2 separate regions of the Homo sapiens genome follow, and region 1 is linked to region 2. Evidence: promoter capture Hi-C in 16 types of primary human blood cells and fetal thymus (Javierre and others, 2016). All regions are on one chromosome and are shown on one strand. Each heading gives the region's core, a stretch centred on a gene start or on the middle of the fragment in contact. The rest is flanking DNA. Distances are from core to core; before and after follow the strand shown. Region 1 overlaps ABLIM1 (actin binding LIM protein 1). Region 2 holds the start of MXI1 (MAX interactor 1, dimerization protein).

The links. The method cuts DNA at HindIII sites, captures the fragments that hold promoters and counts their contacts. A CHiCAGO score of 5 or more calls a contact.
Region 1: a fragment that was not itself captured here is called in contact with the fragment with the promoter of MXI1 in region 2 in 1 of 17 cell types (naive CD8 T cells); the score reaches 5.6 in naive CD8 T cells.

The regions. Positions count from the first base shown.
Region 1 is chr10:114,516,427-114,523,811 of GRCh38, reverse strand. The region is part of intron 6 of ABLIM1 (actin binding LIM protein 1); the gene reads left to right. Among named protein-coding and RNA genes, the nearest start is that of AFAP1L2, 120 kb to the right of the region's middle. RefSeq lists an enhancer at 4,385-4,904. The HindIII fragment of the contact is 4,733 bases long and covers 1-3,878 here.
Region 2 is chr10:110,202,263-110,209,496 of GRCh38, reverse strand. It overlaps MXI1 (MAX interactor 1, dimerization protein), which reads right to left and starts at 1,892. Exons shown (of 6, transcript NM_130439.3): 1 at 1,415-1,892. The coding sequence starts at 1,688. RefSeq lists a silencer at 1,642-1,721 and an enhancer at 3,311-3,811. The HindIII fragment of the contact is 6,685 bases long and covers 1-3,654 here.

The DNA.
Region 1 (7,385 bases), core at 263-2,762, 4.3 Mb before region 2:
TCATTGATGAACAGACAAATGAATGTCAATGATTTCTATGGAAAGACCACCCAGGAGCTTGGTCAGCAAGCCACATGTCTGCAGCCTGTGTCCATATTTCTGTAATTTTTTAAAGAGGACAAATCCAGTCACCATCTAAGCAGGTTTTAATGTCTGAGGGGCTACCAGAAAACTCTTTGAAGGATGCAGGAAGAGTGGGTCTGTGGGTTGTAGAATTTGGGCCTTCATAAGGCCCAGAAATTAAATTTCTGCTCTTATTATAAACCCCACAGGTTAATGCTTCTTCATGGTTTCAATAAGATAAAGAGCACACTAACCATAGGGTCTGACCCAAAGGCAAGGTATTTACCACCTCTTTAAGAAAACTCGCCAGTTGAAAGAGCTTATGATCAGAGGTGAAAAAACGGCCCTTGTTGATCTATGTGTCCTGTGGGGAGTCAGGTGGTGCTGCCCAGAGAACCTACCTGGTTCTCTGAACCAGGTTATCAGGGCAAGGGGGGTGCAGATGGGGCAGATGTCTTGAAATTGGAAGTTTCCAGACTGTGCAGAATGTAAAGATGCCGTAGTGAGAGACAGAGAAGCCAAAGATCCTCTCAATCTCTTGCTTTGGTTCACAAACCAACCCCAGCTCCATGGATTTTTTTGTTTTGTTTTGTTTTTTGAGATGGAGTCTTGCTCTGTCACCCAGGCTGGAGTGCAGTGGTGCAATCTTGGCTCACTGCAACCTCCACCTCCTGGGTTCAAGCGATTCTCCTGCCTCACCCTCCGAGTAACTGGGATTACAGGTGTGTGCCACCATGCCCGGCTAATTTTTTGTGTTTTTAGTAGAGATGGGGTTTCACCATGTTGGCTAGGCTGGTCTTCAACTCCTGACCTCAAGTGATCCACCCGCTTCAGCCTCCCAAAGTGCTGGGATTACAGGCGTGAGCCACCGCACCTGGCCTAGCTACATGCTTCTAAGCAGAGCCCTGGGAATGAGCAAGCGTGAGCCTTTCTTGTACCTTAAGCTGCAGAGGCTTAAGGTGCAGCCTTTGACGGGAGGGGACCTTCATCAAAGAGGAAACAAACCCTGCTGCTTTATTATTCGCCAAGCCTGGAATGTTTTTAGCAAATACGTGTTTGTGTCCTTCTCAGCATTGCTGGTTCACACTGAGGCCATTTGTTGCTCATAAACACTAGATGAAGCAAAAATACTTGTTTACACTTAAGACTGCTTTTATCTTTCCTTACTGCTGAATAGTAATTTTTTACTAGATTGTCTTGGTTCTGTGCAGCTGGTTCCTTATGTCTGTGCTCATATCCGTATACCTTGTCCAAATAAACATACTTGAAAACATAGAGAATTGTGTTTTGTGAAGTTTAGAACATCCTCTAACAGAGTTTAAGCTGAGCTTTCTGCTTTGTTTTGGCAACTTGTTTAGGATGCCAAATGTATCTGGTCTGGCAACAGATGAAAGAAGATGTTGGCCCTTATATAACGAAGTTTAGGGAATAAGTGGGGGGTGGGGTGGATTGCCAGGTTTCCTTTGTGGTTTGAAAAGAGTTCTAAAGCATGAGGAAAACATGTGTTCGACTGGGTTTTTGTTTTGCCTTTAAACCTTGGAATTTTGAAAATCTGTTGAAATATCTTCTCCTGGCTTATGCAGCCCTCTGAGATTAAGTTTCTGATTACCTACATCTTCCCTCCTCTTTCATTCCAGCCCTGCTAGCCTTCTTTCTGCCCCTCAAGCACAGACACTGTCCATCTCTGGGCTTTCACTGCTCCCTGAGCCTGGCACATTCTTCCTCCAGATCTTGGCTTCCTTCTCATTATTCAACCTGCCTCTTTTGACTTGGAGAGGTATCCTCTAATCACCTAGCTAAAGTTGCTTCCACCTGCCCAACCCCTAGGCCATCTTCTCTCCCCTGGTTCTGTTTTAGGTTCTTCATGGCACTGTTCCCCGACTATCTGGAATTCTTATCTGCTTGTATCCATGTCTAGTATCTGTCACTCATTGCAAGAATGTATGCTTATGACAGGTACTATCATATCCCCGAAACTAAAACATCATCTGATAGAAGGTTGGTGCCCAATAAGAGGATGAGTGGATGGATAGAAGGATGGATGAATGGGAGGGAAAAGGAGAGGGAAGGAAGGAAAGAAGGAGCGGGGAAAGGAGGGGGGTTGACTACCGAGTAAATTTCTACTCTCTTTTAAGTCTAAGAGCTTCTCTCCTGTGATTCCTCTTTGACTCCCCAAGACAGTAGCCTTGGAGAATTTTCTCCCCACACCCACCTCACTTTGTACATTACACTAACCATCTTATCCAGTTACAGTCACCTGTTTGCTAAGCTCTGCATACTAAGCTCTTGAGGACAGGAATGTGTAATAAAGGTGGTTATGGTTGTAATTATTGTTTGTTCTTATTGCCTTAGCACTTTATAAGCATACTTCATCAAAGTCCTTTCATCAACTCTATGGCTTGAGTATGACTCTCATCTTTGTTTTGCAAGTAAGTAAACTGAGGCCCAGAGCAGTTGCCGAAAGGCGTACAGATGATTACTGCAGGGCCAGGAATTGAATACAGATTTCTTCTTGGTAGCGCAGATTATACAGCCTTTCTTTCCTCCTCATCAGGTGTCCAGTGCCTGACCCACAGGTTCATCACAGGCTTTTGCCAAATGAATGAAACCTAAGACCTCACCTCCTCCCTTCTCATCCCTATTATTTGAGCTTATACATATTATTTATACTATTTATAAACATAAACATGAGCCTATCAGTTCATAATCCAGTGACATCTCTAAGGATAACTAGCTGCTGTATCTTAAGTCACTTATTTTTATTGTTTTTTTAGAAACAGGGTCTCACTCTGTTGTCCAGACTGGAGCACAGTGGCACAGTCATAACTTACTGCAGCCTCAAACTCCTGGGCTCCAGAGATTCCCTGCCTCAGTCTCCTGAGTCCCGGGACTACAGGTGCATGCCATCATGCCCAGCTAATTTTTTTTTATTATTATTTTTTAGAGACAGGGTCTCACTATGTTGCCCAGGCTGCTCTCTTAACTCCTGGCCTCAAGTGGTCCTCCTGCCTTGGCCTCCTGAAGTGCTGGGATTACAGGCATGAAGCACCACACCCAGCCTACGTCATTTTTCTTTCTTTCTTTTTTTTCTTTTTTTAACCGATAGGACGTCATTGATTGCTTAAACCCTCTCATTCTTCTTATGTAAACAAATCTATTAGTCAAAAGTTAAGCAGCTGCTGAGTCACATGGCACTTTAATCCAGGGTTACAATTGGCAGCCCTGGGAATGAGTTCTCCTTTTTTTAGCTCCCACGATGGCACTGATTTCCCCTAGAATATGAAACTTACACCAAGGAAACCACCATGACAACTGTAGGTAGCAATTTCAAGCAGAAAAGACTAGGAAAATGCCTAAGAATTTTAAACCTGACAGAGTTCTTCTACATTTTTAATATAACCAAGTGCTGTTCATCACCTGCCTTGACACCGGTGTTTGTGAGGTTGATTGGCCCCAGGATGTTCCACTGCAGAACAGAAGGCCAAGATCAGAAGCCCTTGTCGACATATAAATGTAATGCTGTAAGCTGGCTTGGAGCTGTGACTCCATGGAGCCAATTCTAAAATGATTAAGACTTCTGTCTATAGAGAGTTGAGGTGGAGACTGTTTACTATGGCCCTGCCCAGAGGCTTCAGCAGCTGAGGGTGTACCCTCTGCAGTGGGAGTCTTCAGGCATGAGCCTGAAGCCTGTGCTGGCCTCTAGGGATGGAGTCCCTTGTTGTCTTACAGCTTGAATTTTCCAGCACAGGACAACTCCAGATGACAGCTCCAACAGGGCAGAGGCTGCAGCCTTGCCAGACTGGTCCGTCAAAGCTTTCCTTGGCACATAATCCAGTTTCACCCAGGTTTGGGGGTAACCCAGCTGGTTCCTTTTTTCCTGGGTTGGTGGTGAGCTAAGCAGGGAGGTAGTACCCACAGGTTATTTATGGATGTCAAAAACTCAAAAGGCCCTCAGCACTGGGGGTAGGACCAGTGAGAAGTGCTCAACCATGGCATGTATGAGGGATCTGTGGGCGAACCCTGATGTGTCATTTGGCTCCTCTATCCATCACAAAGAGCAGGGACCCCTGAACCCTTTAACCATCCCTGAGCAAGATTGGAGGGATTTTTGCCCTTTTAATACAACTTCTTAAATGGCCTGATGGCCTTGGATGTACTCATTAATAAATATGTCTTGTGGTTTGCAATTTAACTGTCTGTGTGATGAGGATATTGGAAAGGAGTTTCTGACTGATTCATTGTTCACACTTGCCTCTCCCAGCCGAGGGATAATTGGGGCCTTGCCTAATCTGCACTCGCTCACACCCAACATGTGCTGGGCGGGGAAAAAAGGCTGCAACCTGGCCGGCTGGTTCCCGGACCTGGCCTTGCACCAACCAGGAAGATCTCTTCTCTACCTCCTTTTCTGTGTTCAAGGTGATACCTGCTTAGGACTCCCAGAAATATCATTAGCAGGAAAGTTCCACAGATTTAATCTAGTCTAAACCTCTGAGAGTTGAGGACACTGAGACCCAGAAAACCTGAGTGATTTTCCTAGGAACACACAGCCCATTGGTTAGTAAGGCAAAAGTAGACCTCAGAGCAGCTCAGTGCTTCTCTATCCCCTCTGCACCTCCCCCAGGCTGCCTCTTGAACTACTTCTCTGCTTGCTGTACAAACCAAAGCTATCTTTCAAAGTCTTTTGGAATATTAAAGCCATTACAGGGAGGCAGGGTGTGTGGGGATTGAGTAGATATTCAAAAGATTTTTGCTCAAACCTTTATTTCACTTTGTTTTTAAACAACTTCCCTTTCCCATGCCTATGGAGCTTTTCTTGTCTCATCCTAAAAACTCCCAAGTTCCCACCTGCTTCTAGGAAGATTGTTGATGATTGTCCAGGCATCCCCTGCCACTGTCTGAGCAGACAACTTCTAAAAGTTTTTTTTTTTAAGTAGTGTGAGCTCATCGTAAATAAATAAATGAATAACTGAGTAAGTACACTTGTTTGTACTTCTCTGAATCACATGTAATGGGCCAGATAGTACATATTTTCAGCCTTGTGGACTATGCTGTCTCTGTCTCAGCTACGTATGGGCTAAAGCAGACCTAGAGACTATGTAAATGAACAGACATGGTTCTGTTCCAATAAAGCTTTATTTACAAAAAACAGGTAGTGGGCCAGGTTTCACCTATGGGCTGCCAATCTTGGTATCAGGTAAAAAGTAAACATTCTCCACTTACTCCCTAAGCTTTATTGGCACAGGACCACGTCTGTTCATTTACATAGTCTCTAGGTCTGCTTTAGCCCATACCAGCCTTGAGTAGCTGAGACAGAGACAGCGTAGTCCACAAAGCTGAAAATATGTACTATCTGGCCCATTGCATGTGGTTCAGAGAAGTACAAAGAAGTGTACTTATTCAGTTATTTATTTACAATAAGCTCACATTACTTTAAAAAAACCCACTCCCAGAGGTAGCTATTGTTGAGAGTTGGGTCTATAGTGTCACTGGCATGCAGATACTTACAAATACGGGGTTGGATCATGTAAATTTTTTCATATAGGATGTAGAGTTCTGTATCTTGCTTTGCTCCTGTTTCTTGCACATAGATACCTGTGGGAGGGCATGTATTCTTTTATACAAATAGGACCGTTTTATGCATGTTGTTCTACAATTTCCTTCACTTGGCAGTAACTCAGTGTTGATGCTTATAGGATGATGACATTCTTTTTAATGACCACATAGTGGTAAAATCCTTTACCATACACTAAGAAAACATGACAAATACCAAAAAAAAAAAGTATGTGTGTAAATAACTACCAGCAGACACAGATGATGTCTTGTTCGTCTCACATGGTCCCATGTGTCTGGTGGGCACATCCACGGGGATCCATGTCAGCCCGTGCAGCGTTACTATGTTTCCAAAGGGGGTTTTGTTTCAGCCTAACTTTCTGCCAGCACAGCACCACATACAGGTGACGAGCTAATAAAAGATTTGCATGATGAGGAAGGTTTCAGACAAACTTTAGCTTCAACATTGTGGTTGATTATGAGGCAATTTCTGTGAAATCCTAAAAATCCCAAGTTTTTTGTCCTGCTGTGAACACAGTTTATCGCAAAAAAGTACAGACCCACATTGTACTGTGGCCCCCCTCCCCGCCCTTTAAAGTATGCGCTGTCGTTGATGCCTTGAATTCGTTCCTAAGGATATCATAGATCACCACAAACTTGGCAGCTCAAACATGACAGAAATGTATTCTGTCACATTTCTGGAGGCCTGAAGTTTGAAATCAAAGTGTTGTCGGTGTGGAGTGGGGGTTCTTCTGGGGGCTCTGCTGGAGGGTCTGCTTCATCCTGTCCCCTGGCTTCCAGTGCTGCAGCATCCTTGGTGCTGCGTGGCTTGGAGCTGCATCGCTCCAGTCTCTGCCTTCATCTTCATGTGGGTCCAGCTTGCCCTCTTGGTCAGTTTCCTTGTCTTGTCTGGTCCCGTCCTGTCCTGTATTTTGTAAAGACTTGTCATTGGATTCAGGGCCCACCTGAATCCAGGATGGCCTTCTCTCAACACCCTTACCTTAATTACATCTGCAAAGCAGGTTGGACATATCTTTGGGGGACCACAGTTCAACTCAGCCCATGCCCTCCCATCTAAAAATCGGAGTGCTTGCTCTTCCCTCTCAGGTTTTTCCTCCTGGAGGTGAGGAAAGGGGCAAAAGCCTTGTTCTTGTCGTAATCAACAGCCCTGCTCTTTGAGGATAAAAAGCAACAACAAAAAAAAACGGAGTCCCAAGGAATGGCATCTACTATTAGTTAATCGCAGGTCCCAGAAAAGCACCAGCCAGAACTGCAAGTCTTCTAGGAAATTTCTTACTGAATTCAGCAAAATAAGAGGCTAATGAGAAGAGTGTTTGCATATCTGATAGTCTAACTGAAAGGAAACAGAGGAAGAAAAATGTGCTTTTGTAAGCCCTGAGAGTTTTAGCTGAATGGCAGCCTTTCCCTGTGATTAACTGGCATTAATTATTGTTTCAAAGAGTTTCCAAGGTTGACTGAATCCAGTGTGAAGCTCACAAAACCAACACCATCTATTTGTTTTATTTCTCAGGAGAAAGTTATATTAATGCAAAAATAAAGAATTGTGGCTGGGTTTGTGATCTGTTTTCAATAGTTTCTTTAAGGAAGCAGCTGTTTTTTGTGTTGCACAGGGTACTTGGATGCGAAACAGTTTTTGTTGTTTTGGCTTTTTTTGGAGACAGAGTCTTGCTCTGTCACCCAGGCTGGAGTGCAGTGATGCGATCTCGGCTCACTGCAACCTCTGTCTCCCCAGTTCAAGCTGTTCTCCTGCC
Region 2 (7,234 bases), core at 643-3,142:
TTGCGCTGCCAACACACGGTTCCTTTAACCCTGAAGACCTGGGGTATCAGTCAGCAATGGTGTTTTTGTGTCTGAGGGTTGTTGTGTTGGGTGGGGGGAAGGTTGCAAGATCTGACACGTTGCAATCGGGACCTTTCTTCTTTCTTTCTCTCTCTCTCACACACACACGCGCACACGTACACACACACACTCGCGCCTCATTGATCTTCCTACTTGTTCGGACACATTAAACATCCCGGTTTCCCCCTATCTGTCGGTCTGTCTGCCTAGTTCCCTTCCTCCTTTTCACAGCTATTATTCTGAGGACGGTGCTGGATACGCTGCACACGCGTGCCCCCGTTAGGGCGCTGAGTCGACTGCCTGGGGAAAGCTGGGTGACCTGGCTGGTAGGGGCAAAAATGAAACAAATAAATACAAAAAAGAAGCCAGGCCAGGGTGGGGTTCCCAGCACACCCCCACCCACGCACTACTATCCACGTGAATCTGGGGGTGGGCGGGTGGGGGGAGTAGAAATCGACCAGGAAGGCGTTTGCCTTGCTTGCCCTGTGCGCTCACTCAAGAGCCGTCTCCCGGAAAATAAAGAAAAAGCACAGAACAGCCCACACCTTCTTCCCCAACTATTGTTTCTCAAAGATCCCAAAGTTTCCTTCTAGCCGCGTCCCCACGGCCAAGTTTCCCGGGCTCAGGACGGCGTGTCCGGGGCGAGCTGCTGGCGTTGCTTGGCCCCGCCGGCCTCCTTCTTTGGGGGGGGGGGGGCGGCGGTGGCACCCCACGGCAACGGACGTGCAGGGGGACTGTGTCCGTAGACGTGATGGCCTGAGCCCAGTCCTGCTGCTAGAGGGAAGGAAAAAGGCGAAGTAGGAGGGAGAGAGAGAGACAGAGCCGAGCCCACGCCGTGGAGAGCTGTTTGGTTGTTATTGTTGTAGTGTGTGTCTGTGTGTTTTCTTTCTGGAACCTCTGAGCTCTGCCTATGGTTTCCAACTTTCGGCTTCTAATCCCCACCCCACCCAGGAACGAGCAACAGAAAAACAACACTTGTCTGCCTGAGAAGGCTCCGGAAAAAAAAAAAAAAAAAAGGAAGAAAAGCGACCTCAAAGAGATGAGCTCTCGGCTCAGTTGTCAGCAAACAACAACACTCCCCCGCTCCTCCGCTGGGCCATCCTCCCAGCCCCAGCCCGCCGGAGAGGACAGACCGACGCACCGACAGGCCCCTCTCCCCCTCGCCCGTCTTTGTTACATCTTTAGCAGCTTTGTGCGTGCGTGTCCTTTCTCCGGTGTCATCGGCTTTACTGCCAAGGGCTGGATGTGTATGTTGGGCGGGGGGGGGACGGGCCGAGCTCGCAACAGGGGTCGCCCAAGTGGGCGAGAAAGAAAGAACCGGGCGCCGAGGAAGAGCAGGGGCCCCCAAACTTACTTTTGTTTTCTTTCTCGATCTGCTCCAGGTAGCTGGCGGCCTCGAGCAGAATCTGCACGTTCTGCAGAAAAGTGTTGATGTGCTTCTCCATCGAGTTCTCGCTGGTGTTGAAAATGTCTGAGAAGGGGCACCTGGGCTTGGCCCCAGCGGGGTCCTCGGGCAGGGCCGGGGGCTGGGGCGCGGCCACGGCGGGGGGCACAGCCGGGGGCGCGGCGGGGGCCAGCCCCGCGCCCTCGCAGCGCGCCTCCTTGCGCGGCCGCCCGCGTTTGCCCATGGAGGAGCGGGGGTCCGCCGAGCTCGTCCTCTAACGGGGCTGCGCGGCCCGGCCGAGCTCCGGGCCCCCAGGGAGACCCGGCCGGCTGGAGCAGAGAAGGCGCCGGGGCGAAAAGCCGGCCTGACTTCCCGAGCCTCGCTGCCTGCAGTTGTGTGTGTGAGTGTATGGGAGTGTGTGTCGGTCTCGCTGTGAGTCTGTGTGTATGGGAGATTGAATGAACCTACAGGACAGACGGAGGCACTCTGGCGCCTGGGTCCTAGTGCGAGCCTGTCGCCATCGGACCGGTCAAAATAAAAGGTGGAGACTAGCGAGCGAGGCAGGGACCGCCCCTGCCCGTCCCCGCAGGCTTCCCTGCCTCTCCCCAAGGCTTACCACAGAGTAGAACACTGTCTTTTAACCGGAATGGAAAAAAATACCTGATGTCTCTGGGTGCACCTGCATAAAAACAAACTACTTTTTTCACAGAAAAATAATGCCTCAGAAAGTGTCCAGCACAATGCCTGGCACATAGTTAGGTCCCCATACATGGTGGCTGCTATGACTTAAAAATAAATAAATAAAAGCTCCCCAATCCAAATGGGAAGAAGGGAACCAGTGTGTAACCAGAAGATCCCCCCACCCCCAACACAAACACTCCTACTCACAGACACACATACATACGTAATCACGCACACACTTGCGAGGCACCTGTGTGTGCCTTCACACAGTCAAATGAAATCCCAGGCCGTCCAAATCCGAGTTACAGATTTACTCATGCCTTTCTCCCTTCAAATGCAAAGTTATTTTCCAGAAGTGGGAGGAGATGTCAGCATCCCTCTCCACACTCCTCTGCCCAGCCTTGGTTCAGCTGTGCAAAGCTCACACCAGGATGCCTCCACACCTGGCTCCCTTTAATTTGAGAGGCAGAAGTGGCAGCTCAGGAACCACCCCCCTCCCCAGCTGAATTCCACCTTTTGCCTCTGAAAACCCCTACCCCAGCTGACATTGTTTCACTGCCACTGCTGTCCGCAATCATGGATGCTTTCCAGCCCTGGGAAGTACTGGAGGTGTCAGGGGATGATTGAAGGCTGCTCTAGGGTGCCATAGGAAAGGGTTCAAATCCCAGCTCTGCTGCATACAGACTGTGTGAGCTTGGACAAGTCCCTTAACCTCTCTTGGCCTAAGTTTCCACATCATTGAAATGTGTGATAAGATGCTTGTGTATTGTATCTGACTTAGCACACTCTGGCCCATGGTAAGCTCTTTTTCTTCCAATCCAGACCCAGGCAAGAGCCTGAGTCCCCTATTCTGATGTAACTTGTATCTAAGAAAGGAACAAGATGTAGTGAACAAGACTCTTCTGCACTTCCTTGGAAAATATCTCTATGACAAGCCCATCTAAATATGGTTACTTTGCAAGGTCACCTGGAGTTTTCCTCCAGGGGAACCATTTATATAGAGGACAAAGACAATGCTGCCCCCTGGAGGTGTGCGATGCAGCCACCCTACTCAAAGGCAGCTTCATACACATTGTCATAAAAACTCTTGATGGCCGGACGCAGTGGCTCACGCCTGTAATCCCAGCACTTTGGGAGGCCAAAGCGGGCAGATCACCTGAGGTTGGGAGTTCGCGACCAGCCTGACCAACATAGAGAAACGCTGTCTCTACCAAAAATACAAAATTAGCCGGGCGTGGTGGCGCATGCCTGTAATCCCAGCTACTCCGGAGGCTGAGGCAGGAGAATGGCGTGAACCCGGGAGGCGGAGCTTGTAGTGAGCCGAGATAGCGCCACTGCACTCCAGCCTGGGCGACAGAGCCAGACTCCGTCTCAAAAAAAAAAAAAAAAAAAGTTTATCTTCCATTATTAGAACAATTACTGATTTTTTGCTTCTGTGAGAACCACAACCTGAGTTATTCGTGTTGAAATGCCTGTAAACATCTAAAAATGTTAGGAAGACCTCATGTATGCACAGTTTCAAACAAGCTTTCTCCAATGCCATTTTGCAAAAACTGGCCCTTGTGTGAAACAGCTCTGATCTCTCTTGCCCCAAATGAAAGATGGTACTGAGACAATGAACCAGCTAAGCCCAGAGAAAACCTTGCTTTCTCTTTAATTGCCCATTGGTGGCATGGGTCAGATGTATAGTACTGCAACATACATGCACCACCAAGACAGGCACACGCATGCATGAGTGCCATGGTGGGGGAAGGGTGTTTTGTAATTATTTATTTATCCCTGTTCCATCTCTCATAGGTCTGCGAGTTTCAGAAAGCCCAGTGGGAATCTTCAAGCTGGGCCACGGATCTGACCAAAGCCAAAATAAACAATGGCTTGAAGAAAATCTACAAAAAAGTGCTGATTTGCACTATTCCCACAGTCGGCCACAGCCCCCACCATCATTCCCATGGAAAACACCACGGCTGGTGCCAAATCAAGTTTTCCCCCCATCATAGGGGCATTGTTTTTTGTTATTATGTGAGTTCTTAGCATCAGACAATGGCACCACAAGAGACACAGTGGAAGCAGGAGAAATGCCTTTTTGTTTCACAAAGTCTGTGTTACTGTGCCCCCAGAGTCTCGCATATAGTTTAGTTGCATATATTCATTTTGGTAACACGTATGTGGAACGACGAATGTGCCAAGCTAAAGCCCGAAGCCCCCTCCTTATTTGTTTTCAGAGCCCATCAAGTGTTAAATCATATTAACATCCCATTGCTCTCTCCCTTCTCCCGCTCCGTTCCCCAATTAACAGATTTCTCTAATAAAGTTGGCCCCAACAGAAAGAGTGGTGTTTCAGGGGTTATATCACAGGACAGGCATCCAGGATGCTGGGTTACAAGCTCAGCTCCATTCCCGATTAGATTTGCTTCCCAGGAGGAGCCATTCAAACCCTTTGCAACCCCCCCTTTCTTTGGGGTTTTGATTCCAGAAGTAAACAGGCCCCTTTGGAAATGCTGAGAATTTCTGCATAGAACAGGTAGGGGATGTGAATACAGCCATTCTGATGAGAACACATGTGAACTCTTTGAAAGAAAAGCAGAAATGCCCAATGAAGTCAGCTAGAATGCTCTCAGAGGGCCCGGGATATCTTGGGTGCCCAGTCGGCCTGGGTCCTGCTTTCCCAACACTCTGTTCATTTGTTTGTTTGGCTTATTTGCTTGTTTGGCAATACCTTTCCATGGACCTTGTTTGTATATTAAAGCAAGATTGTTCTTTCTTTTATTTGCCCCTTTCCCCCCAGACGTTCTATACTCTTACATCAAAGGAGTTGTTTGGCCTATAATTATGTCTTTATGTACACAGAGGCTGGTTAATTACTGAGAAGGCGATGGATGCGTTGCCATCGAAACCTACCCACCTTGCATTGGGATGGGATGCTCTTCCCTCTGTCATGGACCATTTTGGCTCTCTTGGGTTCCTTAGCCTTGCTCTTCCTGCCTCATCTATTCCCCACTCACCAGCCTTTTCTGCCTAAATCCGTCACTCGTCCACCCTCTAGTTTCTCCTTGGACCTTGCCAAAATGTCCTAGTCAGATTCTTTCTTACTCTTTGCCCTGTGATCTTTGTACTCAGACTTGGCAAACACCATGAAGAGCTCTTCTGTCCCCTCCCTTGTCACTTGAGTCCTAATTCTCAGAGCTTTCCCAGCCACAGTTTTCCTGGGTACCTTTCCCTTTTGGAAAGGAATCATCTGGCAGTGAGATGAGGAACTGGCTCACAGCTCCTTCTCCTTGGGGGCCTGACTCTTGCTTTCATTTGTTAGAAAGGAGTGGCCCTGTAGAAGGCCCAAGAATAGAGGGTTAGGAACTGTAAGACACAAGCAGAATGGTAGGAACAAGGAGAACTGTGAGACTCTGCCTCTCCCATGGCCTAAAAGTGCTGACCAGGCCTCCTCTAACCACTGCCCATACCACCCACCACCACCCACACACTCACCAGTGGGTATAGACATGGGCAGGGGATAAGTAGCCTCCGCCCTACAGTGGAGTTCACTGGGTGTCACCTGCTCCTGGAGGCATTATCTCAGCTCTCCTGGACTCTGCCCTCCTTTCTCCCAGAACTGTGAGTCTGGCAGCCTCTTCCTGGTTCAGCAGACTCCTGGGCTTCTCCTGTCCAACACCCAGTACTTAGAGGGCTTATTAGACTATGAGCTCATCAAGGGCAGGAAGCACACCTTGCTCCTCCTAGCATCCCCAGGCCCTGGCACCTAGCACATGCATGGCATAATACTGGGGCTTAGGTCACGAGTCAAAGGCATGAATGCCCTTCCCTGCCTGGTCAGAGCCTCGGTGCCGGCCGTTCATGGCTTCTCGTTCCAGTGGTGAGAAGAGGCATTTGATGCTGTCTGCAAAACTATTCCTGAGTCACTCACATTAAAGTTTAAATATCTAAATGCTGTCTCCATGGAGAAGCCAGAAACCCATTGAGCCAGATGGTTGAGGTTCCATTACAAAAAAGTGCAGAGACTCAGCTGCCCTGTCCCCTGTCCTTACTGCTGGTGACAGATCTGGTGACAAGATGGGTCTCCTGTGTTATAAGATGCCTCTAATGAAGAATTTTCAGAAATCACCAGGCGGTGAAGGCAGTGGCCTGAGACTAAATTAGAAGTCAGATGGAGCTTTTCTCACATCTCCCCCATTCTAGAGTGTCTTCTCAGTCTTTCAGGCCCCAGTTCTTTAACATCTCCATATTTTTTAATTAATTCAGCAAAAGTCTCTAAATTTATGTACATTAAAGTGGCAGGTATCAGTGACTGACTAGCTTAAATATGACTTTCCCTGGAGGCGTTTGGAATTAAAGATGACCAGTGCCTTAAGCTTTAAGGAATAAAATTCTAATGGTAAAATATTAGGCATCAAGAGATGAAGGGGCAAGGTAGTTTGCAAGTGGCAAAGGGTTTTCCTCCTGATTATCAGCTAGCTGAACTTGTATAAGTCACTTAACCTCTCAGATAATCCGTGTTATCATCGACGAAGTGGGAAGAACAATGCTTGCCTTGCTGAAGGGGTATATATGAAGAAACTTTTGAAACCGTGAAGAGTAGTGTGCGTGGCTGGGCGCGATGGCTCATGCCTGTAATCCCAGCACTTTGGGAGGTTGAGGCGGGCAGATCACAAGGTCAGGGGTTTGAGACCAGCCTGGCCAAGATGGTGAAACCCCATCTCTACTAAAAATACAAAAAAATTAGCCAGGCATAGTAGCGCACGCCTATAATCCCAGCTACTCTGGAGGCTGAGGCAGGAGAATTGCTTGAACCCGGGAGGCAGAGCTTGCAGTGAGCCGAGATCACGTCACTGCACTCCAGCCTGGGTGACAGAGTGAGACCCCATCTCAAAAAACAAAAAACAATGGTGTGCATGTCAGGATAGAATCAGGCTACAAAAGTCCTGGAAGATTTTTAGGGAAAACAAAAACAAAAATGACAAGAAAATGGGAGAAGAAATTAGAAGACCAGGGCTTTGGGCCAACTCTTCTACTGAACCACTGTGTAATTTTGAATAAACAATCTAGTCATCTGGTGCCTCGGTGTCCTCGCTGATGAAGGGAGTATTCCATTGCCACAGA